2 separate regions of the Homo sapiens genome follow, and region 2 is linked to region 1. The links are contacts of gene promoters, found by promoter capture Hi-C in human tissues and cell types (Jung and others, 2019). All regions are on one chromosome and are shown on one strand. Each heading gives the region's core, a stretch centred on a gene start or on the middle of the fragment in contact. The rest is flanking DNA. Distances are from core to core; before and after follow the strand shown. Region 1 holds the start of ANKS6 (ankyrin repeat and sterile alpha motif domain containing 6). Region 2 overlaps GABBR2 (gamma-aminobutyric acid type B receptor subunit 2).

What was found. Contacts are between HindIII fragments. The study calls those that stand out against the background at their distance.
Region 2: a contact is called between a fragment that was not itself captured here and the fragment with the promoter of ANKS6 in region 1, in 2 of the 25 tissues and cell types used here (IMR-90 fibroblasts and aorta).

What each region holds. Positions count from the first base shown.
Region 1 is chr9:98,794,309-98,798,147 of GRCh38, reverse strand. ANKS6 (ankyrin repeat and sterile alpha motif domain containing 6) reads left to right here and starts at 1,593. Exons shown (of 15, transcript NM_173551.5): 1 at 1,593-2,015. The coding sequence starts at 1,657. RefSeq lists enhancers at 1,329-1,829, 1,830-2,330 and a silencer at 1,451-2,070. The HindIII fragment of the contact is 18,100 bases long and covers 1-3,839 here.
Region 2 is chr9:98,462,232-98,466,070 of GRCh38, reverse strand. All of the region lies in intron 6 of GABBR2 (gamma-aminobutyric acid type B receptor subunit 2), which reads left to right. Among named protein-coding and RNA genes, the nearest start is that of TBC1D2, 210 kb to the right of the region's middle. The HindIII fragment of the contact is 5,351 bases long and covers 1-3,839 here.

The DNA of each region.
Region 1 (3,839 bases), core at 344-2,843:
AATACACTGTTGGTGGGAATGCAAACTAGTTCAGCCACCGTGGAAAGCAGTTTGGAGATTTCTCAAAGAACTTAAAATAGAACTATTTGACCCAGCAAACCTACTACCAGGTATATACCCAAAGGAAAATAATTCATTCTATCAAAAAGACACCTGTATATTCATTGCAGTGCCATTTACAATAGCAAGGGTATGGAATCAACCTAAGTGCCCATCAACAGTAGATTGGATAAAGAACATGTGGTACAGAGCCAGATGTGATGGCTCACACCTGTAATCCTGGCACTTTGGGAGGCCACAGCAGGTGAATCACTTGAGCTCAGGACTTTGAGACCAGCCGGACAACATGGTAAAACCCTTTCTCAACCAAAAATACAAAAAATTAGCCGGGTGTGGTGGCACTTGCCTGCAGTCCTAGCTACTCGGTAGGCTGAGGTGGGAGGATTGCTTGAGCCTGGGAGGCAGAGGTTGTGGTGAGTAGAGATTGCACCATTGCACTCCAGCCTGGATGACAGAGCAAGACCCTGTCAAAAGAGAGAGAGAGAGAGAGAGAGAGAGGGAGAAAGGGAGGGAGGGAGGGAGGAAGGAAGGGGGATAGGGAGGGAGGGAGGGAAGAGAGGGAAGGAATGAAAGAAATGTGGTGCATATACACGATAGAATATGATGGAATACTACGGAATACTATGCAGCCATAAGAATGAACGAAATCATGCCCTTTGCAGCAACATGGATAAAGCTGGAGGCCATTATCCTAAGCGACCTAAAAAGAACAGAAAACCAAATACTGCATGTTCTCACTTATAAGTGGGAGCTAAACATTGAGTACACATGGACACAAAGATGGGAACAACAAACGCTGGGGATCGCTAGGCCAGGGAGGGATGGAGGGGACTCTGGGCTGAAGAACCTCTTGGTGGGTATTATGCTTACTGCCTGGGTGACGGGATCGTTGGGACCACAAGCTTCAGCGTCGCGCAATTTACCCATGTAACAATTTACCCATGTAACAAACCTGTACCCTTTAATCTATAATAATAGTTGAAATAAAAGGTGGGGGAGAGAGAGAGAACAGGAGGCGCTTTTAGCCCCAGCAGCCTGGCCCAGATGAAGGAGCGACATTAAGGGCACCGCAGGACACTGTGAGGAAACAATCCGTTCGTTCCTTAATTCAGCCGCTTCCTTATTCTAGAAGGGCAGGTTCAGTGCCAGGGGCTGCGGTGGGGTCAGCGGAGCCCGCTAGTAAAGTCAAGGCCCACGCAGCTGCGGACTCAGACCCGGGCCCAGGGCCCTGACCACAGCGTGAAGAGGGGATGGCGTGGCCGCTCCCACCTCTGCCCTGACAGGAAGTTTCTGGAGCCCCGGGACAGGGCGGCGAGAGGGCGCCGAAGAGGCAAAAGGGAACACGCGGGTCTGCGGCGGGCGCTCCTCTGAGCGTCCCTGGACTCCCGAATACGGGCACTGGAGGTGCGCAGCCCCGGCCCTAGCGCGCTCCCGGCACACAGCAGGCGCGCGGCCCTAGCCCCGGCGCGCTCCCGGCACACAGTAGGCGCGCGGCGCGGGCGGGTGGCCGGAAGGGGGCGCCTGCGGGCGGTATCCGGGGGCGGAGCCGACGCGGCCGGCGGGGCGGACGGGAGCGGGCCGCGCGTGGCGGCGGCGATGGGCGAGGGCGGGCTGCCCCCGGCCTTCCAGCTGCTGCTGCGCGCGTGTGACCAGGGCGACACGGAGACGGCGCGGCGGCTGCTGGAGCCGGGGGCGGCGGAGCCAGCCGAGCGCGGCGCGGAGCCGGAGGCGGGCGCGGAGCCGGCGGGGGCCGAGGTGGCCGGGCCCGGGGCCGCAGCGGCGGGGGCAGTCGGGGCTCCGGTGCCCGTGGATTGCTCGGACGAGGCGGGCAACACCGCACTGCAGTTCGCCGCGGCCGGGGGCCACGAACCGCTGGTGCGCTTCCTGCTGCGCCGCGGTGCCTCGGTCAACAGCCGCAACCACTACGGCTGGAGCGCGCTCATGCAGGCGGCCAGGTGAGGCGGCGGGGCCCGGGGGCCCGGGACCAGAGTGGTGCCCGGCGCTGGCCCGAGACGCGGTCCCCGGCGGCCGGATGCCCCGGGAGGTGAAGAGTTAAGGACTCCTTAGAGTTGGAATGGTAAACTTTGAGTAGTCTTTTGTAAACTTTGAGCATAGACGTGGAAACACTTTTGAATTAACATAAAATCAGATTCTTAGAAATTTTGGCCTTTCAGAATAGAATCTGGAGACAGCGAATAGAATTGTAGAGACTTAGAACCTTAGAGATTTAATTCATTTCTTATTGCAGTAAGAGTTTCCTCAGAACCTGCCTTCCCTTCCTGGCTTGGCGTTGAGGGTGCTGCGAGACCCAGGCAGAGTCCCCACCCAGGGCATTGGTGGGCAGGCCAGGCAAAGGAACGAGCTTGACCGGAAAGGTTTGAGTAGCTGTGGGGCAGGTGACCCATTTTGGAGACGTGGGGGAAGGTTTCTGGTAGAAAAGATGTTTATATCCACGTGGAGACCTGCGGATACCTGAGAATTAGCCAGGACATTACAAGTGGGCTGTGGGAAGGCATGATGGGAGGCCCATGCAAAGGCTTGGGTGCACGAGCTGGTAGGACTGGTAGAATGAGGTATGCGTAGAATGTATGAGTAGAATGATGTACTAGTCCTCCCTGGAGAGAAGGCAGATGCCAGGGAGTTGGGGGAGTGTGGGAGCTGAGAAACGCTAGCTATCCTAGGGTGCTAGGGAGTCATGGAAGGTGCTAGGGAGTCATGGAAGGTTCTAGGCAGAATGAGTGACAGGATGAGAGTTACGTTTTGGAAAAATTACTTTCCTTGAAGTGTGAGAATAGATTAGATACTCTAGGGTAAGCTAGAGTCAAAAAGGCTGGTTAGGTAGAGTTTGCTGCAGTCTGAGTGAGAGGTGATGGTGGCCTAGACCAGAATGGAGACAGCGGAGGGAGGGCACCCAGATGAATTTGTGATATATTCAGGGAGTAGATCAGCAGGAGTTGACGACTGGCCCTTGGGGAGGGGTTAAGAGAGACAGCAAGGATGGCATCTAGAGATCTGGCTTCTGTGAAGCCTGCCATGATATCTCCCTGTTCTCTGGTCCCTCCGCAGCAGAAAGGCCTCTGTGGTAGCATCCATCACACCATGTTAATGCTGACTGGCTTCCTCAGTACCCAAACCTGGCCACACATCAGAATCACCAGGATGCTTGTCTAAGTGCAGATTCCTGAGTTCCTTTTCTGGAGATTGTGATTTAGAAGGCCCAGGGCAGTGAGGGGAGTAAGAGACAGGGACTCTGTGTGAGAAGAGGCTCCCCAGTGATTCTCTTGTATGGTAGGTTTGGGAGCCACTGATGTGTTATGTGTGTCTCATCTCTGCAATCCACCAAGTGCGTGCACAGGGGCCCTGGTGAGCCCCCTGAGGAATTTACTGAGTGAGGTTTGTGACTACAGCACTGACATGCCTCAGAGTGTCTCAGAGACCCCAGATCATCAGTTTTAACCAAGTTCTGCAGGATAGTCTTGAGCCTGGGTATTTTAAAATGTGCTGTTCCTCAGTTGGTGTGACACCGACTCTATATTCAGGTAGCATCTCTGCCTGTGTTGAGTTGTGCTCCAGCTTTCTGCTGCGTAATTCATAAGAAAAGGTCAAGTTGAGGAGTAGTATATATGGAAGACTTCCAGAAGGATGTACAGTGTGTCTGTCCCTCACATCGGGGTAGGCAAATGAATGGCCTGTGTGCTGACACCTTCCAGCCTTGTGCTCTTCTTCCTTGGATCTGGATACGCCCCCAGAATCCTGCTCAAAACCACACCCCTGGCAGC
Region 2 (3,839 bases), core at 545-3,044, 330 kb after region 1:
ATGTCTGGAGCAGAAGGAAGCAGGAGGAAGAGAGCAAAGGGGGAGGTGCTACACCCTTTTAAACAACCCGATCTTGTGAGAACGCACTCACTAGCATGAGAACAGCAAGGGGAAAACCTGCCCCATGATCCAGTCACCTCCCAGCAGGCCGCTCCTCCTCCAACACTGGGGATTGCAATTTGACATGGGATTTGGGCAGGAACACAAATGCAAACCATACCAGGGAAGATTCGTCTTTCTGGTAGTTATTCTAGTTCACTCTTAAATAAACACCATCTTCTGTCTTTGCCACAGTTTTCTCATTCTGCCTTTACCACAAAACCTTGCATCAGGGCATGGGTGAGGCAAACGCAGAAGTGAAATGTGTTAATTTTTCTCTTCTTATTCAGTCATCTGTAAAGTTTTGATGTTCTCTGTCTTCCATTATAGATGTGGTATCATTTTGTATAGAATGTTTGTAGCTACAAAGCTAGCTAGTATAGTTTGCGGAGACTTGGGAAAGTTAATTTATACACAGCCTCCTTCATCTTCAGCTACCTGGAAGTCCTTTAACTGGTGTGTTTTAATGAACAGAAATTCTTTAATAGAACCCACTCAAAGGCTATGAAGATATTTTCCTATCTTGTGTTTTAGAAACTCTATTGTTTTACCTTTCACATTTAGATCTATAATTAACCTGAAATACATTTTGTATAGGATGTGAGGTAATGATCAAGATTCCTTTTCTTCTTTTCTTTTTTTACATGGATATCTAATTGACCCAACATCATTTATTGAAAAGTCCATCTTTTCCCACACTGTGCCGCCATATTACTTTTGTCATAAAGCAAATGACTTTATATATTTGGTTCTGTTTCTAAACTTTTTTTTTCACATCACGTATTGATTGTTTATTTAATAAGCATTTTATGCTTTAATTTTTCTTTTTTTTTTTTTTTTTTTTTTTTTTAGTATTTATTGATCATTCTTGGGTGTTTCTCAGAGAGGGGGATGTGGCAGAGTCATAGGGTAATAGTGGAGAGAAGGTCAGCAGATAAACACAAGAACAAAGGTCTCTGGTTTTCCTAGGCAGAGGTCCCTGCGGCCTTCGGCCCTGTTTGTGTCCCCGGGTACTTGAGATTAGGGAGTGGTGATGACTCTTAACGAGCATGCTGCCTTCAAGCATCTGTTTAACAAAGCACATCTTGCACCGCCCTTAATCCATTTAACCCTGAGTTGACACAGCACATGTTTCAGAGAGCACGGGGTTGGGGGTAAGGTTATAGATTAACAGCATCCCAAGGCAGAAGAGTTTTTCTTAGTACAGAACAAAATGGAGTCTCCTATGTCTACTTCTTTCTACACAGACACAGTAACAATCTGATCTCTCTTTCTTTTCCCCACATTTCCCCCTTTTCTTTTCGACAAAACTGCCATCGTCATCATGGCCCATTCTCGATGGTCGCTGTCTCTTCGGAGCTGTTGGGTACACTTCCCAGACGGGGCGGCTTGGCAGAGGCACTCCTCACTTCCCAGACAGGGCGGCCGGGCAGAGGCGCCCCCCACCTCCCAGACGGGGCGGCTGGGCAGAGGCACTCCTCACTTCCCAGATGGGGGCGGCCAGGCAGAGGCGCTCCTCAGTTCCCATTTGGGGCAGCCGGCCAGAGGCGCTCCTCACTTCCTCCCAGACAGGGCAGCAGGGCAGAGGCGCTCCTCACTTCCCAGAGGGGGCGGCCAGGCAGAGGCGCTCCTCACTTCCCATTCGGGGCAGCTGGGCTGAGGTACTCCTCACTTCCTCCCAGACGGGGCGGCCGGGAAGAGGCGCTCCTCACTTCCCAGACGGGGCGGCCAGGCAGAGGCGCTCCTCACATCCCAGATGATGGGTGGCCAGGTAGAGATGCTCCTCAATTCCTAGACGGGATGGCGGCCGGGCAGAGGCGCTCCTCACCTCCCAGACGGGGCGGCCGGGCAGAGGGGCTCCTCACATCCCAGACGATGGGCTGCCAGGCAGAGACGCTGCTCACTTCCTAGACGGGGTGGCGGGCGGGCAGAGGCTGTAATCTTAGCACTTTGGGAGGCCAAGGCAGGTGGCTGGGAGGTGGAGGTTGTAGCGAGCCAAGATCACGCCACTGCACTCCAGCTTGGGCAACATTGAGCGTTGAGTGAGCGAGACTCCATCTGCAATCCCAGCACCTTGGGAGGCCGAGGCGGGCAGATCACCCGAGGCCAGGAGCTGGACACCAGCCCGGTCAACACAGCGAAACCCCGTCTCCACCAAAAATACAAAAACCAGTCAGGAGTGGCGGCGAGTGCCTGGAATCCCAGGCACTAGGCAGGCCGAGGCAGGAGAATCACCGGAGCCCGAGGCAGGGAGGTTGCAGCGAGCCGAGATCACGGCAGTACTGCCCAGGCTCTGCAAGAGAGGGAGACTGTAGAAAGAGGGAGACGGAGAGCGAGAGCGAGACGGAGAGCGAGAGCGAGAGCGAGACGGAGAGCGAGAGGGCGAGGGAGAGGGAGAGCTCTGTTTCTAAACTTTATCTTTTTCTTTTCCATTGTTTTTCACCAAAACATCTTAATTTTTGTAGCTTTATAATAAGTCTTGATAACTACTCATATAGGTTCTCCATCTTAGTTCGTCAAAACTGTCTTGGCTATTCTTGTCTCTTTGCATTTCTATATACATTTTTAAAACAGATTGCCAGTTTATACACACATACATACATACTTTCTCTGGTTTTTATTGGGATTTTACTGAATCTGTAGATCAATTTAGGGAAAACTGACATCTTAATATTAAAGTCTTCCAATCCATGAATTGTGTATATCCCTGCATTTAGTTAGGTCTTCTTTAATTTCTCTCAGAAATGTTTTATAGTTTTCTGTGTAGAATTATTGCACATATTGGCTGGGCGCAGTGACTCACACTTGTAATCCCAGCACTTGGGGAGGCTGACGCAGGTGAATCACTTGAGGTCAGGAGTTCAAGACCAGCCTGGCCAACATAGTGAAACCCCATCTCTATTAAAAATACAAAAATTAGCCGGGCATGATGGCACATGCCTGTAGTCTCAGCTACTTGGGAGGCTGAGGCAGGAGGATCGCTTGAACCCAGGAGGCGGAGGTTATAGTGAGCCAAGATTACATCACTGCATTCCAGCCTGAGCAACAAAGTGAGACTCCATCTCAATTAAAAAGAAGAAAAAAGGATTATTGTACTTATTTTGTTTGATTTAATTCTGGGCATTTGATATATTTTGGTGAACATATGTGCACATTACTATTGGGTGCATACTTGGGGTGGAATTCTGAGTCAGAGTAGCCATATGTTCAGCTTTAGTAGACTCTGTGACAAACAGCTTTCTAAAGTGGTTATACCAATTTACACATCCGCAAGCAGTGATTGAGAGTTCCAGTTGGTTCACATGCTCAACAACTTTTGGTGTGTCAGCTTTTTAATTTTAGCCAAACTAGTGGGTGTGTAGTGGTTGGTGTCTTGTTTTAGTTTAAATTTGCATTTCCCTGATGACTAATGAAGTTGGACATGTTTTCATATCTTCATTGGCCATTTTGATACCCTTTTTTGTGAATTGCCCATTCAAGTCTTTTGCCCATTTTTCCTGTTGGATACTCTGCCTGTTTCTTACTGATTTGTAGAATTCCTTTTTAGATTCTGGATATGAATTATTTGACAGTTATATGTATTATTTATATCTTCTCCTATTCTGTGGCTTATCTTTTCACTCTCGATGTATTTTGATGAATAGATATTCCTAATCTTAATGTAATCCAATGTATTAGTCTTCTTTGTGATTAGTATATTTATGCCTTGTTTAAGCATTTTCAGGATGGGGAGAAAAAAG